Linked DNA regions of Homo sapiens: regions 1, 2, 4 and 5 are each linked to region 3. Evidence: promoter capture Hi-C in 16 types of primary human blood cells and fetal thymus (Javierre and others, 2016). All regions are on one chromosome and are shown on one strand. Each heading gives the region's core, a stretch centred on a gene start or on the middle of the fragment in contact. The rest is flanking DNA. Distances are from core to core; before and after follow the strand shown. Region 1 holds the start of FKBP1A (FKBP prolyl isomerase 1A). Region 2 holds the start of SIRPB2 (signal regulatory protein beta 2). Region 3 holds the start of STK35 (serine/threonine kinase 35). Region 4 holds the start of NSFL1C (NSFL1 cofactor). Region 5 holds the start of SDCBP2 (syndecan binding protein 2).

Region 1 (2,775 bases), core at 192-2,691, 710 kb before region 3:
TTCCAGTGAAAGTCATTTCCCTCAATAGAGGGATCCCTCCATGTTTCCATGATTTGGAAGAGAAAGGTGGAGCTTATTCGTGAGCAACTTGGCCAGAACTGCCCACAGCCTACTACCCAGGAGGAGGAAGAGGAGGAGAGGGAGTGGGAAAAAAAGAGGGAGGAGGAGGGGGAACAGAGGAAAGGGTGGGAAGGTTGAGAAAGGGGAAGGAGGAGGGGGAGGGAAGGTTATTCGTATCAACAACTGTGGCTACACCAATCACTGCCACCCTTGTGGGACCCACAGCCACTGAGTCTCCGCCAACTCAGCTCTCCCCCTCCCCCGCCCCCATACAAACCAGGACAAGCTTGTAAGGAGAAGGAGTAAGACAGCCCCAAGGCACACGACTCTGATGTCTGAATTCTGGCTGGGGAGGGGGAGGTGTCTAAAATTTCCTTTGGCTTGTATTATCACTATGTATTAGCCTCCAGATGCTTATCTTTAAAATGAGGACGAGAAAAGTCTCTACTTCTAGAAGAGCTGGGGGACTAAATTACACGTGCAGCTTTCGGTCAGCCTGAGCCAGCGCTGTCACTGAGCCTTGGATTTGTAAGTGGCTCAAAAGTAAAAAGACGGAAGAAGGCCGTGCAGCTCTACTTCCCCCAAGGCCAGGAAGGGCCAAAGCAATGACTTAGGAAGTGGGATGTTTCCCCACCCTAGGCAAAGGGGCGAATTCCGAGTTCCCCGGAGGAAGCAGCAGCTCTGCAGACTCGGAATTACCTCGTCCTCATCTCCAGTGAAGGGAGGGATGGAAGTGGGGGCAGGGGCACAGAAATGGTACAAATCCTTCCTAATGGTCCCTGGCCAGAGCTCTGCCCATTCCTGAAAGTGTGACCTTGGGAAAGTGAGACCTTGGGAAAGTGACTTCGCCTCGCCAAGCCTCAGTTTCCTCATCTGTGCAGCGGGCATAAGGGCAGCATCTAAGGTGCAGAAATGCTTCTGACGGGTCAGATAACACCTAGCCCGCAGCCGACGCTCACAGCCGCCGATTCAGACCCGCCCGGGTTCCGCAAGCCCCAGGCTGCCCCTGAGCCACCGCCCAGGCCTCAGCCTCGGGCCATGCGGACCTCGCCGCCGCCACGCCCCGGACCCCAGGCCCCGGGCCCCCAGGCCTCGACGGCCAGCCGCACCCGGGCTGCGGACTGCGGCCCGGGCCCCCTCCCCGCTGGGCCCCCGACTCACCGGTGTAGTGCACCACGCAGGTCTGGCCGCGCTTGGGGAAGGTGCGCCCTGAGGAGACAGAGACGGGCATGCTGAGCCGATGCGCGCGGCGGCAGAGGTACTCCGAGCCGCCGCGCGCCACTACTCACCGTCTCCTGGGGAGATGGTTTCCACCTGCACTCCCATGGCGGCGGCGGACGCTGAGCGGGCGGGCGGCGCGACGGGCGGCGTGGACCAACAGCGACCTGGCGGCGGTTCCACGGCTCTGCCTAGTACCTCGGCGCGTCGCCTGCGCACGCGCACGCCCCCTCACGCCCAGCCCTGCGTGCGCGCCCCACACGGCGCGCGACGTCCCGGAAACCCAGGCCTCCGGAAGAGGGACCGGAAGCCCAGAAGCCCCGAGACCTCCGGAAGCCCGGAGGCCTCCGGATACAGCTGTGTTTGCCGGGTGACTTGCTTCGTTCTCCTGCCCTTCCTCTGTGCTTCCAGCCGGTTAAGCATCTCCCTGCCCAAAGAATGGGAGTAATAATAGGGGGTCCGCCAGTCACTGACTGGGTGACTGTCATCAGGTTTCCACTTAGAAGCACACAGTTACTCATCCTGGGAAGAGCATGGTTCTGAGAAGACAGCGCACAGGTGGTGGTAGTATGTTAGTATTTTATAAGTGGCTCAAGGTTGTAAGTTCTGCTTTTCTTCACTGGAGGAGGAGTTGTCCAAATTCATTCACTCACCCATAGCTTACATGCATACATTCTTATTGAGCATGTGAAAGTTGATAATACGAATTGGGTCACTCTTCTTATGCCCAACGGAATCAGAATCCAGGGGCCAGGGGAAAAGCACTGGAGGCACGCAGCGCCTGCTCCAAGAACCAATATTTCCACTAACTGCTGCGGAAATGGCCTGCTGTCCCCCTGAGACCAGATTCAGCTAGTAACTGCTGAAACAACCCGCCATAACCTAATACTAGTTTTACTTACCACTGTCAGTCACCAATCAGAGCTTGCCAGCTCCCTGAAACTTTACTAGTGCCAATGCATTTCCCTTTCTAATAAAACGCCCAGCCTTCTCTTTGTTTTTCGGACATACCAAAGACCACCAGATCTGTGTGTATGCTCCGAGTTGCGATTCTCGCTTCCCCAAATAAAACATTACATTTAGAGATTCATCTCCATATTTTATTTTGACTTTGACAAGCACCTTCTGTATGTCATGTACTGTGCTAGGTGCTGAGGATACAGCGGTGAAGGAGTCAGACTTAGTCCCTGACCTCACAGAATCTACGTATGATGTGGGAGAGATAATCAAATAACCTGTTTAAGTAAAAAAAGATACGGAATAAATGTAAAGTTTCAAATCTGTAATATTATGAGACAGTAATACATGCTGTGAGGGGCGTGTTAATATAACAGAGATGCCTCACTTAGTCTGGAATGTGGTCAGATATTTCCCTGAGTTAGCCAGGTTTAGCCAGGTTTAGCCAAGGTTAGAAGGCCAATTGTGTGTATGTGTTGGGGTAAGGGGAGGCAGAAGGAGCAGTACCTGCAGAGGCACTGTAACGCAAGAGAACACTGT
Region 2 (2,700 bases), core at 38-2,537, 610 kb before region 3:
TGCCTAAAACATAGCAGACACTCAAAAGTACCTGTGGAATGAGACCTAGCAATTATGATTCACATCTTAGAATTGAGGAAATCAGCTTAGAGAATTGAAGTGGTGTCTTGAGTCATACGGCCAATGAGTAAGGGAGCACCTAGGTCCGACCCCACACCTGGGTTCTGCCAGGATCTCTCCTGGGGATGGCCACCCCGGAGGACCAAAGATGTCATGGACAGAATCTAGATCTCAGTAGAGCCTGGAGCAGAGGCCCAGATGGGCAGGAGATGGAATGAGCCCACTGAGAGCCAAGTATCCCTGCCTGGTAGATCAGAGAGTTCTGGACTCAGAGGCTGAGCTATATATTCAGGGGTCTCAAGACTCTGGAGCTAACCTGGCCTGCCCCTGAGTTAGAGGAAACATGGGAATGATAATAATAATCGCCAAGAGTTATCAAATCTTTGTTATGCCAGGCACTTATGGGTATTATCTTGTTAAATTCTCCTAAGAAAGTCCCAAGGTGGGTCCTATTTTTAGCTCCATTTTACAGTTGGAAAAACTGAGGCTCAGAAAGAAATTACTTAAACTGGTTAGTGGTGAGGTTTGAGCCTACTGCGTCTTAAGCTGAGCCAGGGCTGGTTCATGGCTGTGCCATCTATGTAGTCGCACAGGGCCCTGTGCTTAGAAGGAGCCCATGCTTGGTTTACTGCTCTGCTGTGTTGCTCAATACTTTTTGAACAAAAGACCGCAGTTTTCATTTTGCAGTGGGTCTCATAAACTATGCAGCCGGCCCAGGGCTGAGCCTCACCACTTTTCTATTTAATACTCACAGTAGCCCTAGAGAAAGGTCCCATGAGCGTCCCTGTTTTGTAGAAGAGGCTCCTGGGGCTAAAAGAGCTGCAGCATCTGACGTGGGCATAGGAGCAATCAAGCTGGAAGCCAGTGGGTGTGAGCGCAGAGCCTGGGAGCTTATCACTTCACTACGCTGCTTCTTGGGACACTGGGGGTGCCCTCTGCCGGAGTCAGGCAAATTTTCAGTGGACCCCTCTTTACTCTATCTTCATGGGGTCAAGCTTCTTCAGGCATGGCAGAGCACTTAGTGCCCCTCTAGGGACTGACCAGCCGGGGGTGGACCCTGTTCTATCCTAGACCCCACTTACCTGAGGGGACAAGGACCAGTGCCAGCAGCAGGAAGCAGGGAGGCAAGTGGGCCAGGCAGGTGGGGGCCGACATCGTGGAGCACATGGCATCTTCTGTGGTCCCCAAGACTTGGGGCTCCTCTGCTCTCTTGTGAGTGTTGGAGTCTGAGGCGGGGCCCGTGGACAAGGCAGTTTCTGCGTCTCTTGGCCACAGCTGCTTGGGGAAGTGTTTTCATTGCAGCAACACAAGGCTGTTGGTGCAATAGGAAGGAGCCCGGTCAAAGGGTTTCCTGCTTTTGTGTCTGGGCTGTGATTCCTGTAGTCACTGTGCTAAAACCTTGCCATAGGCTCCATCCTAGGTGCCCGGGAGGGAGGTGGGCACTGAGGTCATAGGACGCACTCCAGAATCGGGTGGAATTTGGAGCAAACATTGGATCTTCCTCTTCTTGGCTGTGCAAGATTTCAAAGTCACTTCCCATTTCTGAGCCTTTTGTTTCTTCATCTGCAGCGTAGGAACAACGGCAGTTCCCTCCTCAGAACAGTTTTGGTAAGATTATGAGAAATAATGTGAGGGCACAGAACAATGTAAATGCTAAACATATTAACCATTATTATTCATGATGTGCAGAAAGTAGAGGAGGTGACATTGCTTAAGAAGAAGGATTTATTATAAAGCAAGCCCCATGGGGGCCTCCTTTTAGCACTGCAGGGAGGGTACAGGCCTAATTCCTAAAAGTATAATCATGTGTAACTCTCTCAGCCTCTGTTTCCTGGGGTCCAAGTGAAACATACTCAGATTGTGCAAACATTTGCGTTTGTGGCATCTTTGTTTCCTGTAAGTGATCTGAACTTCCTCAGGAGCCTCCTGGTGCTGGCTATCAAGAAGGAAAAGCTTAATCTTGCCAATTCATGCAATCCAGGCAATCTCTTTAGCCACACTGTCTGGGTTCAAATCTTGGCTTTACTCAGTCTGGCTGTGTGACCTTAGGACAATCATTTGACCACTTTATGCCTCGGTTTCCTCATCTGTAAAACAGGAATAAAAATGTGGTAGCATGTGTGGGGTGGAGTAAGCACTCTATAGGCTTTCACCATTGTCTTTTAGGTTAACTCAGTCTTTTAATTAACTCAGGGAAAAGTACAAGAACAACTCAGCCTTTCATTATTTCACTTCCTCCCTCATGCTTCAGAAGGTTCTGGGTGCAGAGGAAGCTGAAGATTCTCCAGCAACAGGGTGGCAGGCCTTGGATCTGAGTATGTCCCCTGGGTCCCAGAGGTCTGGTGTCTACTATGAGGAGGTTAGTCTGGCCTGGTCCCCAAGGACTTTGCACTGGGTCTGTGACTGGTCTTTTCTAGACTTTTGAGGCCTTGCATTGATACCCCTGCTCAATTCCATTACTCCCTCTACTTGTTCTCCTGTCAATGAGATCTATATAGTGAAACTTCTTTGAAAGGGCCACAAGCCTAGATGATTCCACCAGACCCTCAGTACTTTCCATGTCATTCTTACACGGGAATTTCTGAATCACCTGCTCATCTATGCAGATTTCTTTCTCAGCTATTGTTTTTTTCTAAAGTT
Region 3 (2,700 bases), core at 107-2,606:
GACATTATTGGGACCATTAGCAAAATTTAAATATGGATGGAGTGTATTAAATAAAACAATTGTATCATTGTTAAAATTCCTGATTTTTGACCACTGTACTGAGATTATGCCAGATAATGTCTTTTTTTTAAGGAAACACACACATATATTTAGGATAAAGGAGTTTGATGTTGGAAACTCTAAAATGATGTAGTAAAAAAGAATATATACATTATATATGTGTGTGTGTGAATATCTATATACCGTATACTGATTTCCTTTCTTTTGGGGTATATACCATATAGATATCCACACACAATATGTATTTGTGTGTATATATACACATACACGAGAGGATATGGATATGCAGCAAAATATAACAATTTGTTATTCTAGTGGAAAAGTATATGATCTTTACGATTCTTGAAATTTATGTGTAAATTTGAAATTTAATCACAAAAAAGTTAAGAGGTTTTCAGCGACCAAATACATTATAAGAAATGGCCTGTATCCAGTGAGCACTCTTTAGCTCATTCTTTTTCTCCATCACACTTACCACTGGCAAAAATTATCCTGTGCATTTATTTAATAATACTTAACATTGTGTGCAAGGCTGTCCTAAGTGCTTTACCTGTATAACCTCTGTGGATCTTCTTACAGGTAAGGAACAAATACACAAGAAGGTTGACTAACTTGCCCAAGGCCACCCATGTGGTTTGTCTCCTGCAGTGGCACAGAACCTCAACCAAGGCAGAAACTGCCTTGTCTATTGCTCTTTCCCCAGCGACTTGGAATGGTGCCTAGCACATTACGGGTGTTCAATAAACATCTGTAGATTCAGTTAACAAACACTGGGCACCCACTAGGCCTACACTGGAATACAAAATACAGAACAAAATATTCAAAAATCTGTGCCTAAATGGGAGCTTTGGGTACTAACAGCCCCACACCCAATTAGCCTCCATCTAGGTATTTCATTTGGGTCTATCATTCCTGGGAATTAAAGCCCATTCTATCCATTTTGCAGAGGATCATTAGATAAACGGATGCTCAGGGTGGGTCAATGATTTGCACAAGATCACTGGGCTGGTAGAAGGGAAGGTCGGGATTCCAACCCAGTCCCTGAGGTTCCCAGGACAGAGCTATGAATCAAACGACCAAGACAATCACCCAGTCAGTATTTATTAGGCGCCTACTGCGGACGGTTGGTCTTCACGCAGATCAGGCGAGAAGGGATAGTGATGCGCGGGCCGCTGCGGAGACCCGGAGCCCGCCGCGGATCACGGGAATTTCGCGCCTATTTTTTGTTGGCTGGGTGTTCTCGCCAGTGATTGGGTCCCGGCAAGGCGTGCCGGTGCGCTCGGCTGCGGCTGCTCCGTCGACCTTTGCAGGACCGGGCGGTGCAGGGCTCACTCGGCTGGCGTCCCGGGGGATGGGCCACCAGGAGTCTCCGCTGGCCCGGGCGCCGGCGGGAGGTGCAGCTTATGTAAAGAGGTTATGTAAAGGGCTCAGCTGGCGCGAACACGTGGAAAGCCACGGGAGCCTAGGAGCCCAGGCTTCCCCAGCGAGCGCCGCGGCAGCAGAAGGATCCGCTACACGCCGGGCTCGGGCCGCCACCTCCCGCGCTGCTCGGTCCCGGAGGCAGCCCGGGCCCGGAGCGGACCATCCCCAGGCAGGGGCTCCAGGGGGGAAACGGGCCGCCCGGAAGTGGAGGTGCGCGGGCCAGGTAAGGGCGCCGTTGGAGGACTGAAGGCCAGCGCCGAGGCTGGAGTTACTGCCACTGCCTCCGCGCTTGGGAAGGGAAATCGGGTCCTCGGCCAGTCGCACTCCGAGAAGCCGAACTTTTCAGCCAATCCCTTCTACCCGTCGCCCTCGGGGACTTGGGTCGGTCCGCTGGGCTCCGCTAGGGCTTAATTCAATGGACTGTTTACACCCGGGCGAACACAAGGCGGGGCGCGGGGAGGAGCGTCACAGAGGGGGCCAAGCAAAGAAAAATATTTCCGCCGGCCAAATCGCGTCTCTAAGCGGTTTTCAGAAGGCGTGAAGCTTGCTGGCTCTTCTTTTTCCTATCGCTACATGACAAGCTAACAGAGAGAGCGGAGAGTTTGTGCTTTTCTTTCCGGTTCCCCCTCTGAGCTGCTGCCCAGTGGTTCGGTCTTTCCCGCTTTCCCCTCCCCTCCCCCGTTCAATCAGCGGCGGTGGCTTCCGTCTTAAAGGGGCCGCGGCGGCCGGGGGAGGAGGAGGTGGGACGCCCCGCGGCCTACGCTCCTGGCCTCCCCGCCTTGGCCTGGCCGTTTAACCGATTCTTTCGCCCGCAGGTCACAATCCAAGGTCCGGCTCCTCCGCGTCCCAGGGCCGGACGGAGGGATGAGGCAGGGGGGGCCCGGGCAGCGCCGTTGCTGCTCCCCCCGCCGCCCGCAGCCATGGAAACGGGGAAGGACGGCGCCCGCAGAGGTACACAAAGCCCGGAGCGGAAAAGGCGAAGCCCAGTGCCGCGGGCGCCCAGCACGAAGCTGAGGCCGGCGGCGGCGGCCCGGGCCATGGATCCGGTGGCGGCCGAGGCCCCGGGCGAGGCCTTCCTGGCGCGGCGACGGCCTGAGGGCGGTGGCGGGTCCGCGCGGCCGCGTTACAGCCTGTTGGCGGAGATCGGGCGCGGCAGCTACGGCGTGGTTTATGAGGCAGTGGCCGGGCGCAGCGGGGCCCGGGTGGCGGTCAAGAAGA
Region 4 (2,750 bases), core at 105-2,604, 630 kb before region 3:
TTTTTATTTCTGCCCAGCATAGGGGCTTCCCATTGTGTCTAGGTGTGATCTAGGTGTGATGCTTTACCGAATTCTTATGTTTGGGGAGTAATTTACGTTTGGCAGCAGACTCAGTTCAAATTCCAACCCCGCTACTTACTGGCTATGTGACCCTGAGCAAATTCTTTGCCCTCTGTGCTTCCAATTCCTCATCCATAAAATGGGTCTAGTCTTTACCTCATAGTGTTGCTAGGATCCAACGAATCATATTATGTAAAGTGCTTGGCACATGGTGGTTTAAAGCTTGGGCTCTGTCTGCTTGCAATCAGACAGAACTGGGTTCCACTTCTACCTCTTCTGCCTGGTAGCTAGTGAGGCCTTGAGCAAGTTACTTAACCTCTTTAATCTCAGCTGCAAAATGCGAAGGTTAAATGACAAAAGACATGTAAAGCAGTCAGAACAGCGCTTGGCTCATGGTAGGTACTCAATAAATATTAGTCATCACCGTCATCATCTACCTAAGACGAAGCTGGCCAAGAATATTTATGCAATTCTTTCTACAGTTAATTACCGAATGCTTATTATGTGCCAGGCATTGTTCCAGGCACTGGGAATTCATCAGTGTACAAAAATCCCTGCCTCGTGAAGCTTAAGTCTTCTTAGCAAGTATTTAGTGAATACTCAGTACGTGCCAATGAACTACACAGCAATTTCCACGAGACTCCCATTTTACAGATAAGTTAACTACGCAAGGTGAAGAAGCTCCAACCTTGCGCCACCACCCCAGAGGTATTCTCCCAGCAATTAGGAAGGCTGGGCGGCGGTCAACTCCCGGGCTGGACTTCGGAAGTGGAAATGAGCGGCCACCTAGTCCCGAGTGGGGCTTCACCCAAGAGCTGCTCACTCGGACCAGCCCGGCCTCCAGCAGATACTCGGCGCGGCAGCCACGCCCCCAGGCGCTCCCTCTCCTCGCCGGCTGCCGCAGCGCCCGAAGTCTCGCTGACGCCGCAAGCGGGCGAGGCAGGGTGAAACTGGCACGGCAGAACTGGCTGGGGCTGGCCCGCGTTCCCCCACTCCCAAGCCGAGCAGGCGACGCGTGACAAGCGGTCCCGGGACCATGAGGCCTGGGTCGGGCCGCGGTAGAGCGGGGATGACTGTGCGCTTCGGCCGCCGCGGGCTTAAGGCACCAGGCGCCCGCTCCCAGCAGTCCCCGGCCCACCCGACACAGCCCGCCGCGCGGCGCTACCTGCAAGTCCCAGCCGGCCGACTCGAGAAAGAAGCGGGCCCGGTCCTCCTCGGCGCCCGTCACCGCCACGAACTCCCTCAGCGCCTCCTGTCGCTCCGCCGCCATCTTCGCCCCGTGCGCCTTCCAAAGCGCTCCGGCGGCCGCCGCACAGGCCCAGCCCCGCTGCCGCGTTCCGCTTGCCGGTCGACGAGGCCCAGCCGATGAGGGCCCAGCAGCTGGGAGCCCGCCCGCAGCCCCGCCCCACGCGGTGCCTCACGCAAAGCCCTCCGTGCGGGAAGCCCCGCCGCTCCGCGCCCTCTGGCGACCGCGGCGCGAACCGCAGCCTAACGGCGGGGGTGGGAGCCCGAAGGATGAGAGGCGGGGCGGGTCTTACATACACCTGTGGGCTGAAGGCTCCCTGCAGGAGTCAGATTCCCAGTTATTCATTGACGCAGCCCTCATTTCATTAATTGTGCATTCGTTCATTCACTTACTTGTCAAGCATTTACTGAGAGCTATCAATGGCCCGACGTTTTTCTAGGGCTGTGGATATGGCAGGGAGCAAAACAAAGTCCCTGCTCCCATGCTTCTTACATTCTAGGGGTAAAAATTCAGACCTTGAACAGGCTAGGCCTCCGCTCACAACACGTCCATGCCTCGTTATCTCGCCCCGCATAAAAGACAGTCTCATGGCCTGCCTGCAGGACCCATGAGAGATGGGCCAGTTCCTCCCTCTCATCAAGGGATCCGCTAGCTTCCTCTGCTCCAGGCGCCTTGCCCTCCTTGCTGTTCCTGGAACTTGCCAGTTATCTTGCATTTGCCTCAGGGCCGTTGCATTAGCTGCTTCTGTGCCTGGAGCACCTTTCCCTTACCGATGGGCAAGGCGCTCTCCCCGCTTTCTTTGGGCCTCTGCTCCAAGGCCACTTTCTTAGGCACAATCCTGTCTTCTGGGTCCTCAGCTTCTTTGCCCTCTTGCCTCTCCAAAGAGGAACTTACTTGTTCAGCTTACTTGTTCTTTGTTCTCTATTTTCAAAGCCTAACTTCCTTGTTCTTTGTACCTCCTTACCCCTAGTTACGGTAAACAACCTTCCCGCGGGTCCTAATCTATAACTCACATCTGTTCCCTTGGATACCCTCGCTACAATTGCCATTCCCGCGGAAACTCTTCTTCCTGCCGAAACCGCTTGCCCTACCACTGTAGCCCACATTTCTGCTCCATTTGAACTAGCCAATCGGGATTAGCTTAGATTGCGCAGTCCAGCCCCAGCCAATGGGAACAGGACACAGAAGCAGCGACTAACCGCATTAGGGATAAAAACCCCTTCTCTCTTTTGTTCGGTGTGCTTTCCTGAAGACCAGATGTGTGAGTGGCACCCTTCTGCAGAAGTAAATTGGCTTTGCTGAAAAATCTTTTATTTCAGTGCTGGTTTTCCTTGAGACTTCGAGCTTTAATTTCCAACACCACCGTGGGACACTCTTCCCTTCCTCTTCCTCTGTCGGCCCCTGCTCATTCTTCAGCTCTCAGTTCAGGTGTCCCTTTCTCAAG
Region 5 (2,741 bases), core at 134-2,633, 770 kb before region 3:
TATATGGAAAGCATTTAGCACAGCACCTAGCACATAATAGGCATTCAGTAAAAGTTAGCTGTTTATTCATTGTTTCAGCGCTTACTTACTCAGCACCTGCTAAGTCTGAGTACTGTTCTAGGTATCAGCAGTGAAGGAAAGAAGACTTGGTCCCCAAATGTACTTTCTTTGGGGGAAGAGCTGGATAAATAGGCTTTGTGACTCTGTGTGCTGTGTTAGATGGTGGGAGGCACTGGAGAGAAAGAGCAGGACGGAGGGTCATGTCAGGAGGTTCAGAAGCCTTGCTGGCTGGGTGGGGTGACATTTGAGGAAAGGCCTAATGGGGTGGGCACGGCCATTGCAGAGCCTCTCAGGTGGGAGTTGGTGTTGTGTTTAGAGGACATCTGCCAGTGAGAAGCCAGTTGTGCAGAGAGGGAGTAAGGAGGAGTAGTGGGGAGGAAGCTGGAGAAGTGAGAGGGGCCAGATCCTGGAGGGCCTGGAGGTCATGGTGAGGACTTTGGCATTTACTGTAGTGAGATGGGAGCCACTGGGGGATTTGTAGCAGCAGAGTGCCAAGGTCCAAGGGTTATTTTGACAGGCCTCCTCTGGCTGATGTTTGGAGGATGGGCTACAGGGCAGGAGTGGGAGCAGGAGCCCAGGTGGGAAGTGATGGTGGTGGAATTGTCATGAGCTTGGGCCACTGTACGTGAAGCTGCCTGTCCAGTGCTCGCCCAGCCCATACCAGGCTCGTTTTCTGCCCCATTTTCTGAGACCCTGCTGAGGAGGGCATGCACTGGCTCCTGTGTCCAGTATGTCCTTCCATTCTCCTGACTTTGTGGGCTATTTTCAGTCTCCAGATGAAGAAACCAGTTCTTAGAAAGGTGAAGCCCCTGGCGCAGTTCCCCAGCAGGTGTTTCAGTGCTGTGGCAGGAAGGTTTTTTGATAGAAACAGCCTCAGGCCAGAGAAGTCGGCCTGAGCTGTGGATTCCTTGGGAGAAATGGGCTTTTTGCCTGCCTGCAGCCTCTGGTTTCGGCTGGAATTGGCCTTTCAAGGAGCAAAGTGTGGATCTCATCTCCTTGAGCACAGTCATGGGCAGTCAGAAGGCATCGGGGGCCCTCATGATGTCTGGGTGAAGAAAATCACTCAGCCCTTAATCAAACTTGGTCCAGGGCTGGGATCAGAAGAAGAAACCCCACTTCACACTTGACTGCTTGGAGTGAAGCACTTCGAAAGGAAGCTGCCTGGGAAGTCCCAGAAGGGAAGGGGCAGGGAGGGAAGGGGACAGGGTGAGAGCAGGTCTCACTCATCCCAATCCCAGCCAGGATTGGGTCAGGGCCCCCAGCGCTTACCTGCAGGCAAGGTGCTGCTCCACGACCTTCTCCAGCTGCTGCCGCTGCTGAATCTGTTTCCCTCCCTGAAACGTAGCCCTGTCTCTCAGCTGGCTTCCTGATCTGGGAAGGGTGGTGCCTGTCCCCTGTTCAGCTGACTCACCTTGGACTGGGATGGGCACAGGTGAGGGCTGTGGCTGGGTAAACAAGGCAGGTTGCCAGCCCAGAGGAGGCCTTTGGCCTTAGTCTGGATTTGGAGGTGGGATTAAGGCCCTCACAGCTGCTGTTCAGACGGTTATGAACCAAGACTTCTTGGCCTTTTCTTAAATAGCTCTAAATTTGGGTTGGACACCTAGTCCTGCTGATCGAGGCAGTTGGCTAGAGGGCGGTTTGTGATAGGTATCTAGGGGTCTAGGCCAGGATATTAAAAAGTGGTCATATCCTGTGACCCAGCATTTCTTCTAGGAATTTGTTACAGTGGAGTCACAGGGCCCATCCATCACTGCTGCTTCTAGTAAGGAAAATGTAGAAATCCCAAATGCCCATCTCTGTGGTCTGCTTGAATAAATCATTGTCTGTGGAAGATCACAGAGCTATTAAAGTCACTTAAGGAAGAAGGTATGAGGAAACATTTCTGAGATTCTAGTGAGATGTTGAAAAATCAATATTGTGAATCTCTTCTTGCATTTTGTTTTCATTTTTTGTAAAGTGGATGTGCGTTGAAAGCAGTCTAGGAGGACATACGCTAAAATGCTGAGTATCTCTGAATGGCAGCATTGAGGGTGAGGTTTTCAGTTTGTACTTTTGTGTGTTCCAAGGTGGTTTTTTTTTTTTTAAGTTAGCTTTTGCTCTGAATGCTCATGACTTTTGTAAGGGGGAAGCAATTAAGTTTGATTATTTTAATGGGAATTTAGAGTGGTTGTCTCTTGGGAGCAGACCTAAGGAGCTGTGTGCTGAGGTGGAGATTTTTTTTTTTATGGCACATTTTTGGTGTCTTAAATTTTGAAAAGTTTAAATGTACTACTTATTCCAAAAATAATTATATAAATTTGAACAGAAAAGGAGGAAGAATTTAGTTTAGATCCTGGTGGGTTTGGTTGGGTGAGGGTGCCTGTCGCACTGGGTGCCTGGGGAGGGACGAGGGACTCGTGTGCTGGGCAGTCCCATGAGGATTGACGCTGTACACACTCAGGGTGTGTCAGTATCTGGGCTGCTTCCTGGGCCAGGCAGGCCTACGTCACAGTTCCCATGACCCACCTGGCAGAGTTGCACTAGCCTTGGGTGTCAGATCTTGTGCCTGCCAATGAAGAGCTTACAGCCCAGAGTCCCACACAGGAAACACACAATAGGAATAATAACAAGAAAGACATTTGCCACTAATTCAGCACTTACTCCCAGAGAGCACAGAGATTCTACCCCTGGCACTTTAAAGG

What was found. The method cuts DNA at HindIII sites, captures the fragments that hold promoters and counts their contacts. A CHiCAGO score of 5 or more calls a contact.
Region 1: the fragment with the promoter of FKBP1A here is called in contact with the fragment with the promoter of STK35 in region 3 in 3 of 17 cell types (neutrophils, monocytes and fetal thymus); the score reaches 10.4 in neutrophils.
Region 2: the fragment with the promoter of SIRPB2 here is called in contact with the fragment with the promoter of STK35 in region 3 in 2 of 17 cell types (monocytes and M2 macrophages); the score reaches 8.5 in monocytes.
Region 4: a contact is called between the fragment with the promoter of NSFL1C here and the fragment with the promoter of STK35 in region 3, in 1 of 17 cell types (neutrophils). The highest score is 8.0, in neutrophils.
Region 5: a contact is called between the fragment with the promoter of SDCBP2 here and the fragment with the promoter of STK35 in region 3, in 4 of 17 cell types (total CD8 T cells, monocytes, naive CD8 T cells and 1 more). The highest score is 6.7, in total CD8 T cells.

The regions. Positions count from the first base shown.
Region 1 is chr20:1,391,613-1,394,387 of GRCh38, forward strand. FKBP1A (FKBP prolyl isomerase 1A) reads right to left here and starts at 1,442. Exons shown (of 5, transcript NM_000801.5): 1 at 1,350-1,442; 2 at 1,222-1,269. The coding sequence starts at 1,386. It overlaps FKBP1A-SDCBP2 (FKBP1A-SDCBP2 readthrough (NMD candidate)), which reads right to left and starts at 1,560. Exons shown (of 10, transcript NR_037661.1): 1 at 1,350-1,560; 2 at 1,222-1,269. MIR6869 (microRNA 6869) reads right to left here and starts at 1,349; the gene lies at 1,288-1,349. RefSeq lists enhancers at 1-42, 834-1,334 and silencers at 1,069-1,138, 1,149-1,248, 1,449-1,498. The HindIII fragment of the contact is 4,016 bases long and covers 345-2,775 here.
Region 2 is chr20:1,490,133-1,492,832 of GRCh38, forward strand. It overlaps SIRPB2 (signal regulatory protein beta 2), which reads right to left and starts at 1,288. Exons shown (of 5, transcript NM_001122962.2): 1 at 1,143-1,288. The coding sequence starts at 1,227. The HindIII fragment of the contact is 958 bases long and covers 1,054-2,011 here.
Region 3 is chr20:2,100,471-2,103,170 of GRCh38, forward strand. It overlaps STK35 (serine/threonine kinase 35), which reads left to right and starts at 1,357. Exons shown (of 4, transcript NM_080836.4): 1 at 1,357-1,705; 2 at 2,298-2,700. The coding sequence starts at 1,412. RefSeq lists silencers at 1,243-1,432, 1,533-1,822, 1,833-1,882, 2,173-2,700 and an enhancer at 2,118-2,700. The HindIII fragment of the contact is 3,640 bases long and covers 1-2,023 here.
Region 4 is chr20:1,465,495-1,468,244 of GRCh38, forward strand. It overlaps NSFL1C (NSFL1 cofactor), which reads right to left and starts at 1,355. Exons shown (of 9, transcript NM_016143.5): 1 at 1,226-1,355. The coding sequence starts at 1,330. RefSeq lists an enhancer at 584-1,085 and a silencer at 1,380-1,649. The HindIII fragment of the contact is 14,006 bases long and covers 626-2,750 here.
Region 5 is chr20:1,327,756-1,330,496 of GRCh38, forward strand. SDCBP2 (syndecan binding protein 2) reads right to left here and starts at 1,384. Exons shown (of 9, transcript NM_080489.5): 1 at 1,330-1,384. The region is part of intron 2 of FKBP1A-SDCBP2 (FKBP1A-SDCBP2 readthrough (NMD candidate)); the gene reads right to left. The region is part of intron 1 of SDCBP2-AS1 (SDCBP2 antisense RNA 1); the gene reads left to right. The HindIII fragment of the contact is 15,880 bases long and covers 1-2,741 here.